Linked DNA regions of Homo sapiens: regions 1, 3 and 4 are each linked to region 2. The links are contacts of gene promoters, found by promoter capture Hi-C in blood cells and fetal thymus (Javierre and others, 2016). All regions are on one chromosome and are shown on one strand. The core of a region is centred on a gene start or on the middle of the fragment in contact, and the rest is flanking DNA. Distances in the headings are between cores, read along the strand shown. Region 1 overlaps FBXL19 (F-box and leucine rich repeat protein 19). Region 2 holds the start of SRCAP (Snf2 related CREBBP activator protein). Region 3 has its middle 2.9 kb from the start of MIR4519. Region 4 holds the start of ZNF764 (zinc finger protein 764).

Region 1 (2,700 bases), core at 4-2,503, 240 kb after region 2:
GGACCGTGGAAGGGAAGTGGCTTCAAGGAAGTGGTGACAGTTAAGCTGGGAGGCAGTCGTGGCAGGGTCACAGTGGGCAGAGAGAGGTTTTGGATAGAGCAGATGTCACCGATTTTCTTGCTCACAGAAAGAGCAAAGGGGCAGGACCTAGGGGTAGAAGCTGGGTCGGGCATGAGTTGGTTTTTTTCCTTTTCATGTTTTGAATTGGAGAGATTTGCAGATGTTTATTAGTTGAGAGGAAGGAATCAGGAGAGGGAGAGGCTAGAATGCCAGAAAAGCAGGATGAGGGTAGGAGGGAACAGGAGAGCGAGTGGCAGAGGGGTGAAGGTGTTCGGACTGAAGCCTTGGTGTCTGTGCCCTCAGCCTTCTCTAAAACGTCACACCAGGGCTGGGCCCAGTGGCTCACGCCTGTAATCCCAGCACTTTGGGAGGCTGAGGCAGGAGAATTGCTTGAGCCCAGGGGTTCAAGACAAGCTTGGGCAACATAGTGAGACCCCCATCTCTATTAAAAAAGAAAAAATTAGCTAAGCATACCTGTGGTCCCAGCCACATGGGAGGCTGAGGCAAGGGGATCACTTGAGCCCAGGAGTTTGAGGCTGCAGTGAGCTATGATTGCATCACTGAGCTCTAGCCTGGGCGACAGTGAGACTTTGTCTGAAAAAAATAATGAAATGACACACTGGGCCTCTGGAGTAGGTCTGGCATTTTTCAGTGACACAAAAATATGGCTTAATCCCTCTGTGAGTTTTGGAAAGGAAGTCTTTCCATTGGAAGGAAGTCTCTCCATCGGGTGCTTTTTTTCTTTTTTGAGATGGAGTCTTGCTCTGTCGCCCAGGCTGGAGTGCAGTGGTGCAGTCTCGGCTCACTGCCAGCTCCGCCTCCTGGGTTCACGCCATTCTCCTGCCTCAGCCTCCTGAGTAGCTGGGACTACAGGCGCCTGCCACCACGCCCGGCTAATCTTTTGTATTTTTAGCAGATACGAGGTTTCACCGTATTAGCCAGGATGGTCTCCATCTCCTGATCTCGTGATCCGCCTGCCTCGGCCTCCCAAAGTGCTGGGATTACAGGCGTGAGCCACTGCGCCTGGCCACTATTGGGTGCTTTTTCTAACACTTCTCTGATACTTATCTCCCTGTTTAACAAAAGTAGTCTTCAGGTAGTAGCCTAAAGCCACAGCAACACCTGGCTAGGATTTAATAACTCTGGTCTTTTTTGTGTTTTATTTATTTATTTATTTATTTTTGAGACAGAGTCTCGCTCTGTCACCCAGGCTGGAGTGCAGTGGCGCAATCTCGGCTTACTGCAAGCTCCGCCTCCCAGGTTCATGCCATTCTCCTGCCTTAGCCTCCCAAGTAGCTGGGACTACAGGTGCCCGCCACCACGCCCGGCTAATTTTTTGTATTTTTAGTAGAGATGGGGTTTCACCGTGTTAGCCAGGATGGTCTCAATCTCCTGACCTCGTGATCTGTCCACCTTGGCCTCCCAAAGTGCTGGGATTACACCACACTTGGACTTTTGTGTTTATTTTTAAGATTAACATATTTATGTGAAACAATACTGGGGTTTTTTTTTTTGTTTTTTTTTTGAGACGGAGTCTCGCTCTGTCGCCCAGGCTGGAGTGCAGTGGCACGATCTCGGCTCACTGCAAGCTCCACCTCCCAGATTCACGCCATTCTCCTGCCTCAGCCTCCCGAGTATCTGGGACTACAGGCGCCCTCCACCACGCCCAGCTAATTTTTTGTATTTTTTTTTTAGTAGAGACGGGGTTTCACTGTGTTAGCCTGGATGGTCTTGATCTCCTGACCTAGTGATCCACCCACCTCGGCCTCCCAAAGTGCTGGGATTACACGCATGAGCCACCGCGCCCGGCAACAATACTGGTTTTAAGTGCAAAGAGGAGATGATTCAAAGATAAATCATGTTACGCAGATAAGTGAACAGCAAATACTGGAGCTTGGGAATCACTGCCCCAGCCCAGGGCTTCTACAAGGAAAAGCCTTTCAGAGTCATGAGGGCAGGGAGGGAGGCAAGAGAAAGCTTCCCTTGGGAGGCCAAGGGAAGGATCGCTTGAGCTCAGGAGTTCAAAACCAGCCTGGACAACCTTGTCTCTACTAAAAATAAAAAAATAGGCCAGGCACAGTGGCTCACGCCTGTAATCCCAGCACTATGGGAGGCCAAAGTGGGCAGATCACCTGAGGTCAGGATTTCGAGACCAGCCTGGCCAACATGGAGAAACCCTATCTCTACTAAAAATACAAAAAATTAGCCGGGCGTGGTGGCGCATGCCTGTAATCCCAGCTACTCTGGAGGCTGAGGCGGGAGAATCGCTTGAACTTGGGAGATGGTGGTTTCAGTGAGCCAAGATCACACCATTGCACTCCAGCCTGGGCAACAAGAGCGAAACTCTGTCTCAAAAAAAAAAAAAAAGTCAGGTGTGGTGGCATGTGCCTGTAGTCCCAGCTACTCAGGAGGCTGAGGTAGGAGGATGGCTTGAGCCCAGGAGTTTAAGGTTGCAGTGAGCTGTGATCGCAGTACTGCACCCCAGCCTGGGTGACTAAGCAAGACACTGTCTCAAGAAAAAAAAAAAAAAGCTTCCTGGGCCTGCTGCTTCTGACACAGTCTATTGAGTCTCAGAGGCATTTCTGGACATGCCTTTGAGAACTACTGAACTCAGAGAAGAGAGTTCTCAAACTGAGTCCA
Region 2 (2,700 bases), core at 156-2,655:
CAAAGGGATTCTTAATCTAGAAAGTTTGCGAAGAGATGGCAAAGGTGTTTGAAAGCTATCAGGAAACCATCCTCGCGTAAAACGAAGCAGCGCTACAGAAGTGGGCTGCCATGGGAATCGGGAGGCCCAGGTTCCACTGCTAACTTGCTGCAGCTTACTGGGTGATCTGTAAATAAAAAGGGAGGTGGCGGTGGTCCGAGCTGGCAGCCGCAATGCAGCCCCAGGTAGATCTAGGGGCAAACGGTAAAGGCGCTCCGAGGAAGGGCGAGCGCGCAGCCTCTGGGAGACTACACCTCCCAGGCTGCCTTGCGCACCGTGCTGCACCCTACGCTAGCACGCGAGCCTCCCCGTTCCCCCACCCTCCAGTTACTGTCTCTCGCGAGAAGACGGGCCGCGCCGGCGATAGCGATTCCGAGCGAGTGGTGGTGGTAGTGGTGGTGGTGGCGGCCGAGACGGCGGCGGCCATTTTGGTGAGGCCTCGGGAGCGGCAGCGGCGGTTCGCTGGGAGTAGCGTCTGCCCTTTTTCCCACCCACCGTCCGCATCTGTGTGCTGCGCGAAGAGGCAGTGGAGGCAAGGCGGTGGCAGTAGCCGCAGTCTCCAGGGGAGTTTAAAGGCCGCGAAGGCGGTGGCCAAGAGGGGGCCCTCCCCCCTCCTAGGCGGGAGGGGGGGTGGTGCGCACGCCCCCGAGGACGCAGGTAAGGAGAGGGAGACAAGATGGCGAACGCCCCACAGTTCCCCCTCCCATGACGGCTGACTGCGCGCGCATCTTTCCGCCACCGCCTCCCCCCCACCTTCCCGGGGTGCTGCGCGCGCACCCTCAGCCGGGGCCCCGGGGCCGGTGCGCGAGGCTGTCGGCGCGCGCCCATAGAGACAGACTGAGGGGGTCAGGCCGGCCGGCGCTGGGCCCCGGCGTGTCTCCTCTCCCTTCCCGCCCTTCTGCGCACGCGTGCCTGAGCGAGCGAGCGAGCGAGCGAGCCCTGAGAGGACGGACCCAGGTGCGCTCCTGCCCGCCCACCAACCCAGTCACCCCTCAGGGGCGCGCGGGAAGAGGAAGGGGGGCGTGGGACGAGTAGTCGGGGCGCGCGCCCACCACATCTAGCCGGGGGACCAGGACCTGGTGGCACGAACCCTCCCTTCTCTCAGCCTTTCGCGGTCGGGTGATGGGGGGGCTCCCTGACGGGCTTGGATGACGAGCTTCCCAGCCCCGCGACCCTTGTGTGCGTGGGCTCGGGTTCTGGCGGGAGCCCCTGGGCCGTGCGCGCAGCCGGCTCGCTCCGCCTCCAGCCGCGCACGCGCGGGCCCCTCCCCCGCCCGGCGCGCACGTTGGGTGGGGTGGGAGTCTGGAGGGGGCGGGGCTATCTCAGGGCTAGTGGCAACTTGGGCAGAGGTCAGGGGTCACGCGAGGTCAGTCCGTCGGGAGGGCTAGGGAGATGGTCACGAAACCTGAAGTCAAGAGTTAAGGCTTGTTGGCTTCTGGTGAGCTCGGGTCTTGGGAACGTGTGGCGGAGTAGGGAGTGAATCAAAGCCGGCACTGTGGTTTAGGAATTTCCTTAAACACTGGGGAAGCATTTCCGGGCCTCCTGCGGGTTCACACTGCCTGTTTCCGGCGCGTGGTTCTTGGCAGTGCGGCCTCTCGCTTTTGACTGCTCCTGAGTCTCCTTTTGCTGTGGTTCTTGTATTTGGGGAAGTGTCTCAAGGCGCAGGTATGGGATATACAGCGCCCTGCCCTGAATCCTGGGCGGATTTTCCTGTGACCAGCCTGTTTGTTGACTCTTCCCGGGAGTTCCACTCTCACTTCTGCGTTCAGCCCTCACTGGAAAGGCCCGCAGGCAGGTAGCACCTTTCTGAGGTTCTGGATGTGACAGCTTTTTTTTGCTGTATTTTTTTTTTGTCTTCCATTCTGTGGTTGGAGCCTTTACACTTAAAATTTTTGAACTTTCTTTCTTCACTCCTTTCCTGCTCCTGCCCCCAGGCAGGATCGTATGTCCCTCCGGAATTCACAAAACATGATTTGCATTTCCCTGAAATGTGAGATTTTCCTACTACTGTAGTTTTTCTGTTTCTAGTCTTTTAACTGATTTGGGTATATTTAAACGTCTCAAAAAACTGGAGTAAATAATACGCTTTGATGGATGTTTCAGGTGTGATTCCCTTCAGTACGGCGGCACCGTGGAAGTGCAGACTTTCACAGGGGGTGTGGTCTCAGCTCACACAGGTGAGGGATCTGCTACCATTTTGTGTGCTGATGCTAATGGGAGAAATGTTTGAGATAAAGCAATTATAGGTCCGTATTGGGGATTTTCACTCTAGAGAAGCATGGGAATGTTTGCATGTGATTTTTCTGTAGAGGGTTTGATTATAGTACAACAACAGAACTGAGGCTGTGGGTTGAGGAAAACGTGGTCAACCTGGCTCTACCAGGAAGAGTAGCAGGTTTTCCTTGGTTTTGGCATCAGACTGTGGATTGAAGCCCTCCTATCACTTTTTTACTGTGTAACCTTCCGCAAATCATAAGGTCTTAACTTCGTAACTTACAAAACAGATTATATTAGAATGTAAGCTACATTTAGGTCGGGAATCCTTTCTGCATGGCTATATCCGTTGTGTGTAGGAGGAAGTCAATATTTGTTATGCTGTGAAAAGCACTTGGTTTTTAAGGTAGGTGTGAGGATTATAGAACACATCAAACAGGTACTAAA
Region 3 (2,700 bases), core at 191-2,690, 170 kb after region 2:
CAGGGGGAAAGGTGTCCTGAGTGGGAGATCCAGGTCTTGGGGTGCTCCGACTCTGGATCTCTGGGAAGAGGAATCCCCAACTCTGCTTCCCAAGTAGCTAGAAACTGACTTAGGAGGGGGACAGCGTATAGGGAACACTGAAATGCTGCTGTAAACGATGGCTGGAGTTAGCCTCATCTGAACTCTGTGTTTGAGGGTACACACTCTGAAGTCAGATGATACGGATTCAGATCTGCCTCTATTATATACTATGGGACAAGTGACTTCACTTCTCTGTGCCTTGCTTTTCTCATCTGTCAAGTGGAAATAATAAGAGTACTTACCTCACTAAGTTATTGAAATGATTTTGTAAGATTATGCATGTAGTGCTCTGAGAATATTCACCTAGCTCAATGTTAGCTTTTTTTTTTGAGACTGAGTCTCACTCTGTCGCCCAGGCTGGAGTGCAGTGGTACGATCTTGGCTCACTGCAACCTTCACCTCCCGGGTTCCAGTGATTCTCCTGCCTCAGCCTCCTGAGTAGCTGGGACTACAGGCAGGCACCACCACACCTGGCTTATTTTTGCATTTTTAGTAGAGACAGGGTTTCACCATGTTGGCCAGGCTGGTCTTGAACTCCTGACCTCAGGTGATCTGCCTACCTTGGCCTCCCAAAGTGCTGGGATTACAGGTGTGAGCCATCGCACCCGGCCACTATTTTGTTTTATAGGGTCCAGAATTACTCAGATAATTGCTTGGATTTAGGGTTGAGATTCTCACCTAAGTTGAGTGAGACCAGATGGACCCTAATCATCCTGTCTGGAGGTGCTTAGCCTCAAGTTTGGGTCAAGTTGAATTGCACAGCTGTGAGAGAGGTGGACTGAGTTAAATCGGTGTTGAACAAGAGCATGGCAGGACCTGGTTGTTTTGCTTATCTTCTATATGCTATAATTTCAAAAATTAAGGTATAAAATTAAGCTCTCTCTGGAAAAGGATATTCGTGTTATTGGAATGGGTTCTGAATTTAATGGTCAGTTAAAGCCCACAGGGAAAGAATAAGATGAGGAATAGGGTCTGAGGGAGGAGGCAGAGTTCTGATGAAGATGATGGCAAGAGGTGGGAAAGTCCTTGGCCAGGAAGGGGAGAGAGGGAGTCATGGTGAATACCCTGCGGCTGTGCTCCAGGAAAGTGGTCAGTCCTGAGAGCAGGTGGCGGCCTGACATTCCAGAAACATGGGACCCTATATGCAGGTAATCCCAGCCAGCCTAGAGACTCTGGTGCCCACAGGTGGAATAGGGCAGAAGTCATGGAGTGTAAGGGACCCCTGTGGGCTTGGAAAGTGATGCCAGTAGCAACCAAGATGAACTAGAGATCAGACTCTCCTCACCACCAGCACGCACGTTCACACACACCCTCATTCTCCAGGCAGGCAGCACTTCCTGAACTGCGGTGTGCCGTTGAGAGAGGGTGAAAGCCCCAGTGGCAAATGAGATGGGATTTCTGTTTAGAGTCATAAATTGTTTCATAGAAATATTTGAATATTTGTTAGAAGAGGTACCCAAAACAACTCAGGCAGCCTGGTGCCCGCATGTTTTGGGTAGTGGCCAGAGTCCCCTCTCAAGCCTGCTAGTCCATTCCCCACCCCCTATCCTACTTCCAGACTTGGTAAGTAGGTAGTTTTGGCAATCAGACAGACTTGGTTAAGCCTAGCTTCTGTCACTAGCTGTGTGACACTGGACAAGTAATTGTACCTGACTTCTCTGAACCTGTTTCTTCATCGGTAAAATCATGCACTTCTTTACAGGAGTTGTCAGGAAAATGCAATGAAAGAATAAGGTGAGGGTGGTTTTCAAATGATGACCTGGAGAACCGTAAATCAGACAATCCAGTGTTTGCCAAACTTCATTCACATCCCATCTTCCCAACCTCTGACAAATTTGTGGACCACCTCTACTTCTGTTTACTTAATCTTGTTCTTTAAAAATTATCAACTCACGTTTTGATGGAACTAGGTGTATTCAAAAGGAAACTTTAACCACTGCCATAAATGAGAAATTATCATGTACCCAAGAGTGGTAAAAATAGATACAATAAAACCAAAACAATGCTGTTCAGTTCTAGCTGGCTATGATTATAGGCCAGGGCTCTGAGCTCAAGGAGTTGATTTTGTTAAAAACAACAACAAAAAGGTTATCTCAGTCAAAAAAGGCCACATAAAGCCCTAATATGAAATGTCCAAAATAATCAACTCTATAGAGACAGAAAGTAGATTTGCAGTAGTCTAGAGCTGTAGTGGGAGGAAGGCTTGGGAGTTACTGTTAATGGGTATGGTTTCTTTTAGGGGTAATGAAAATGTTCTAAAATTGACTGTGGTGATATTTGCAAAACTGTGAAGATACTAAGAATCATTGAACTGTACACTTTAAATGGGTGAGTTGTATGGTGTGTGAGTCATCTCTCTCAGTAAAGGTGTTATTTTAAAATACGTATATATGGGCCGGGTGTGATGGCTCAGACCTGTAATCCCAGCATTTGGGGAGGCTGGGGCAGGCAGATCACTTTTGAGCTCAGGAGTTCCAGACCAGCCTGGGCAACATAGCAAAACCCTGTCTCTACTAAAAATACAAAAATTACCCAGGCATGGTAGCAGCAGCCTGTAATCCCAGCTACTCGGGAGGCTGAGGCAGGAGAATCGCTTGAACCTGGGAGGCGGAGGTTGCA
Region 4 (2,700 bases), core at 123-2,622, 140 kb before region 2:
TGGTGGCGGGCGCCTGTAGTCCCAGCTACTGGGGAGGCTGAGGCGGGAGAATGGCGTCAACCAGGGAGGCGGAGCTTGCACTGAGCCGAGATGGCGCCACTGCACTCCAGCCTGCGCGACAGAGGAAGACTCTGTCTCAAAAAAAAAAAAAAAAATTAAGCAGGCTTGGTGGCGGGCGCCTGTAATCCCAGCTACTTGGGAGGTTGATACAGGAGAATTACTTGAACCTGGGAGTGGGAGGTTGCAGTGAACTGAGATGGCACCACTGCACTCCAGCCTGGGCAACGGAGTAAAACTCTGTCTAAAAAAAAAAATTACCCAGGCTTCGTGGCGAGCACCTGTACAGTCTTAGCTACTCTGGAGGCCCAGGTGGAAGGACTGCTTAAGCCCGGGAGTTCCAGGCTACAGTGAGCTATGATGCCGCCACTGCACTCAGCCTAGACAACAAAGCGAGACCCTGTCTCTAAAACAAAAACACCAAAAAAAGCCCCCAGAGTGTAGTGACCACGCAGAGGTGAGGACTCAGAGGCGGGTATGGCAGGGCCAGAGCCCCCATCACAGCTCCTTTCTAGGCTGCATCTGGGAGCCACGCAGGGGCTCAGCCTCGTCGTCGCAGTTGAGAAGGCAGTTCAGAGAGGAAACTGCTAAGCAGGTAGCTGGAGGTGGCAGAGGGTACCGGGATGGGACAGGAACAGAGAAGTCCCCATGGGACTGAGCACCCGATACTCCACCTGGGTCCGTTTGTGTCTGACATTTCGCCACCTCCGGATCCTGGGCAGCCGGACCCCACAGTTCGGCCTCCTCCTCCACCCAGGAGATGAGAGCTGGCTTGTTGCCTCCGATTCCTAGGGAAGAAGAACGCAAACCCCACGCTGCGGGGAGGCCACCTGCCCGGCCCCGGGGCCCCCAACTTCACGCGCAGCTCCCAGAGGCGCGGCAGGGCCTGTGGGGGCGCAGGGCTCAGGCGAGCAGGTGGGGCTCTCACCGAGAGCGCTCAGGTGGCCGTAGGTCTCCCGCATCACGTCCCGGTACAGGGCCCTCTGCGCTGGCCGCAAGCAGCCCCACTCCTCCCGGCAGAAGTACACGGCCACGTCCGCGAAGCTCACAGCCCCCGGCTCCCTCCACTCGGGTCCGGCCCCGTTTGGGTCCCGGGGAGGGAGCGGGGCCAGAGGCGGCGCCATGGTAACTGTCAACCCCGACGACGGATCGGCTGCCTCCCCTGGCCTGGCCTGGGCCTGCGGAACCTCCTGCGCCCGAGAAAGCCTCCCCGGCCCGGGCCCAAGGGAAGGAGGGAGGTTACTAGGGCCCCCGAGGGCGCACTAGAGGGCGTGGAAACTAACGGTGCCGATGGCAGCGGGTGTATAATCAGAAATGGAATATGCCCTCATAAAAAATGGCGGCGGCGCGGGTACTCGACCTTTGCCCCTACGCAGTCGTGCCCAAGACAACGCCCCCGGTATCTCCAGTCCGCGTTCTCTCCGTACCCTCATCCAAAATGGCCGCGGTGACTAATACAGAGGCCGGCCTTGAAAACTAGCCGCGCATGTTTAGTCCCCGGCCCGGCGAGGCGGTGCAGCAGAGAGCTCCGCCCCGGCCCGGCGAGGCGGTGCAGCAGAGAGCTCCGCCCCGGTTTGCACGAACAAAAGAGCGCCTCGCGGGAGTGAGCTGGCCTCCCGGCCTTACTGAACTCAGGCATTAGTTTTCGTTTGTGGACCGTTTTATAATCGGGCTCCAGCTCATCACTCTCTCGTTTTGTCCTTGTTATCTCAGAAACAGGGCAACAGCAGTCTCTTCCCAATGTTGAGTGTAAAAAAACCAATGGAGTGGGCGTGGCGCAGTGGCTCACGCTTGTAATCAGCAGTTTGGGAGGCCGAGGCCAGCGGAACAACTGAGGTCAGAAGTTCGAGACCAGCCTCACCAACATGGTGAAACCCCGTCTCCACTAAAAACACACAAAAAAACAGCCAGGTGTGGTGGCGTGCACCTGTAATCCCAGCTACTGGGGAGGCTGAGGCAGGAGTATCGCTTGAACGCGCGAGGCGGAGTTTGCAGTGAGCCGAGATTGCCTCACCGCACTCCAGCCTGGGCGACAGAGCGAAACTCTGTCTCAAAAATAAAAAAGAAAGAAAGAAAGAAAAAGGAGTGGATACAGGAGAACCTCCTCCATCGTAGGCTTGTTGGGGCCTGAAATTCTGGAAGTTTCTAGATGGCGGAGGCAGTGGGGAGAGTAGGGTAAGGTTGAGAAAGTCAGAGGGTCCTCTCTTCTAGGAGCTTCTCCCATGTGCTGCTCAGGACGCCTCCCAATTGCCAGTCTCCCTGTAGCTGCAGCCGGGCTCTCACCTCCCCTCACATCCTGCCCCTGGACAGATGGCCCAAGGCTCCTCTACTCAAATCCAACTCATCCCTTTCTTGCCCCAATCTGCTTCCCCTAGGGTCTTTATCTAGTAAATGTCACCAACTCTCCCCCAGACCTCTCTCTCACTTTCTGATGGTCTATTCTGTGCTCCACGTGACTTCATACATGTCCTGTTGTAGCAGGACAAGCCACAGACAAAACCCCTCAGACACCGAGTTGAAGGAAGGGTTTTATTCGGCTGGGAGCATCGGCAAGACTCACATCTCAAAAACCGACTCCCCGAGTGAGCAATCCCTGTCCCTTTTAAGGGCTCACAACTCTAAGGGGGTCCCCGTGAGAGGGTC

Evidence for each region. The method cuts DNA at HindIII sites, captures the fragments that hold promoters and counts their contacts. A CHiCAGO score of 5 or more calls a contact.
Region 1: a contact is called between a fragment that was not itself captured here and the fragment with the promoter of SRCAP in region 2, in 1 of 17 cell types (erythroblasts). The highest score is 5.6, in erythroblasts.
Region 3: a fragment that was not itself captured here is called in contact with the fragment with the promoter of SRCAP in region 2 in 2 of 17 cell types (erythroblasts and megakaryocytes); the score reaches 5.9 in erythroblasts.
Region 4: a contact is called between the fragment with the promoter of ZNF764 here and the fragment with the promoter of SRCAP in region 2, in 4 of 17 cell types (fetal thymus, total B cells, monocytes and 1 more). The highest score is 6.1, in fetal thymus.

The regions. Positions count from the first base shown.
Region 1 is chr16:30,937,847-30,940,546 of GRCh38, forward strand. The region is part of intron 7 of FBXL19 (F-box and leucine rich repeat protein 19); the gene reads left to right. Among named protein-coding and RNA genes, the nearest start is that of ORAI3, 9.9 kb to the right of the region's middle. The HindIII fragment of the contact is 1,563 bases long and covers 473-2,035 here.
Region 2 is chr16:30,697,766-30,700,465 of GRCh38, forward strand. SRCAP (Snf2 related CREBBP activator protein) reads left to right here and starts at 1,406. Exons shown (of 34, transcript NM_006662.3): 1 at 1,406-1,477; 2 at 2,143-2,216. LOC730183 (a long non-coding RNA gene) reads right to left here and starts at 1,295. Exons shown (of 2, transcript NR_144637.2): 1 at 1,116-1,295; 2 at 1-166. RefSeq lists enhancers at 217-306, 337-526, 1,183-1,477 and silencers at 647-1,056, 1,197-1,426. The HindIII fragment of the contact is 7,629 bases long and covers 1-2,700 here.
Region 3 is chr16:30,871,093-30,873,792 of GRCh38, forward strand. It overlaps a transcript of BCL7C not described here. Among named protein-coding and RNA genes, the nearest start is that of MIR4519, 2.9 kb to the right of the region's middle. The HindIII fragment of the contact is 4,374 bases long and covers 1-2,700 here.
Region 4 is chr16:30,557,002-30,559,701 of GRCh38, forward strand. ZNF764 (zinc finger protein 764) reads right to left here and starts at 1,373. Exons shown (of 3, transcript NM_001172679.2): 1 at 986-1,373; 2 at 732-845. The coding sequence starts at 1,181. RefSeq lists enhancers at 261-822, 1,363-1,502. The HindIII fragment of the contact is 20,167 bases long and covers 1-2,700 here.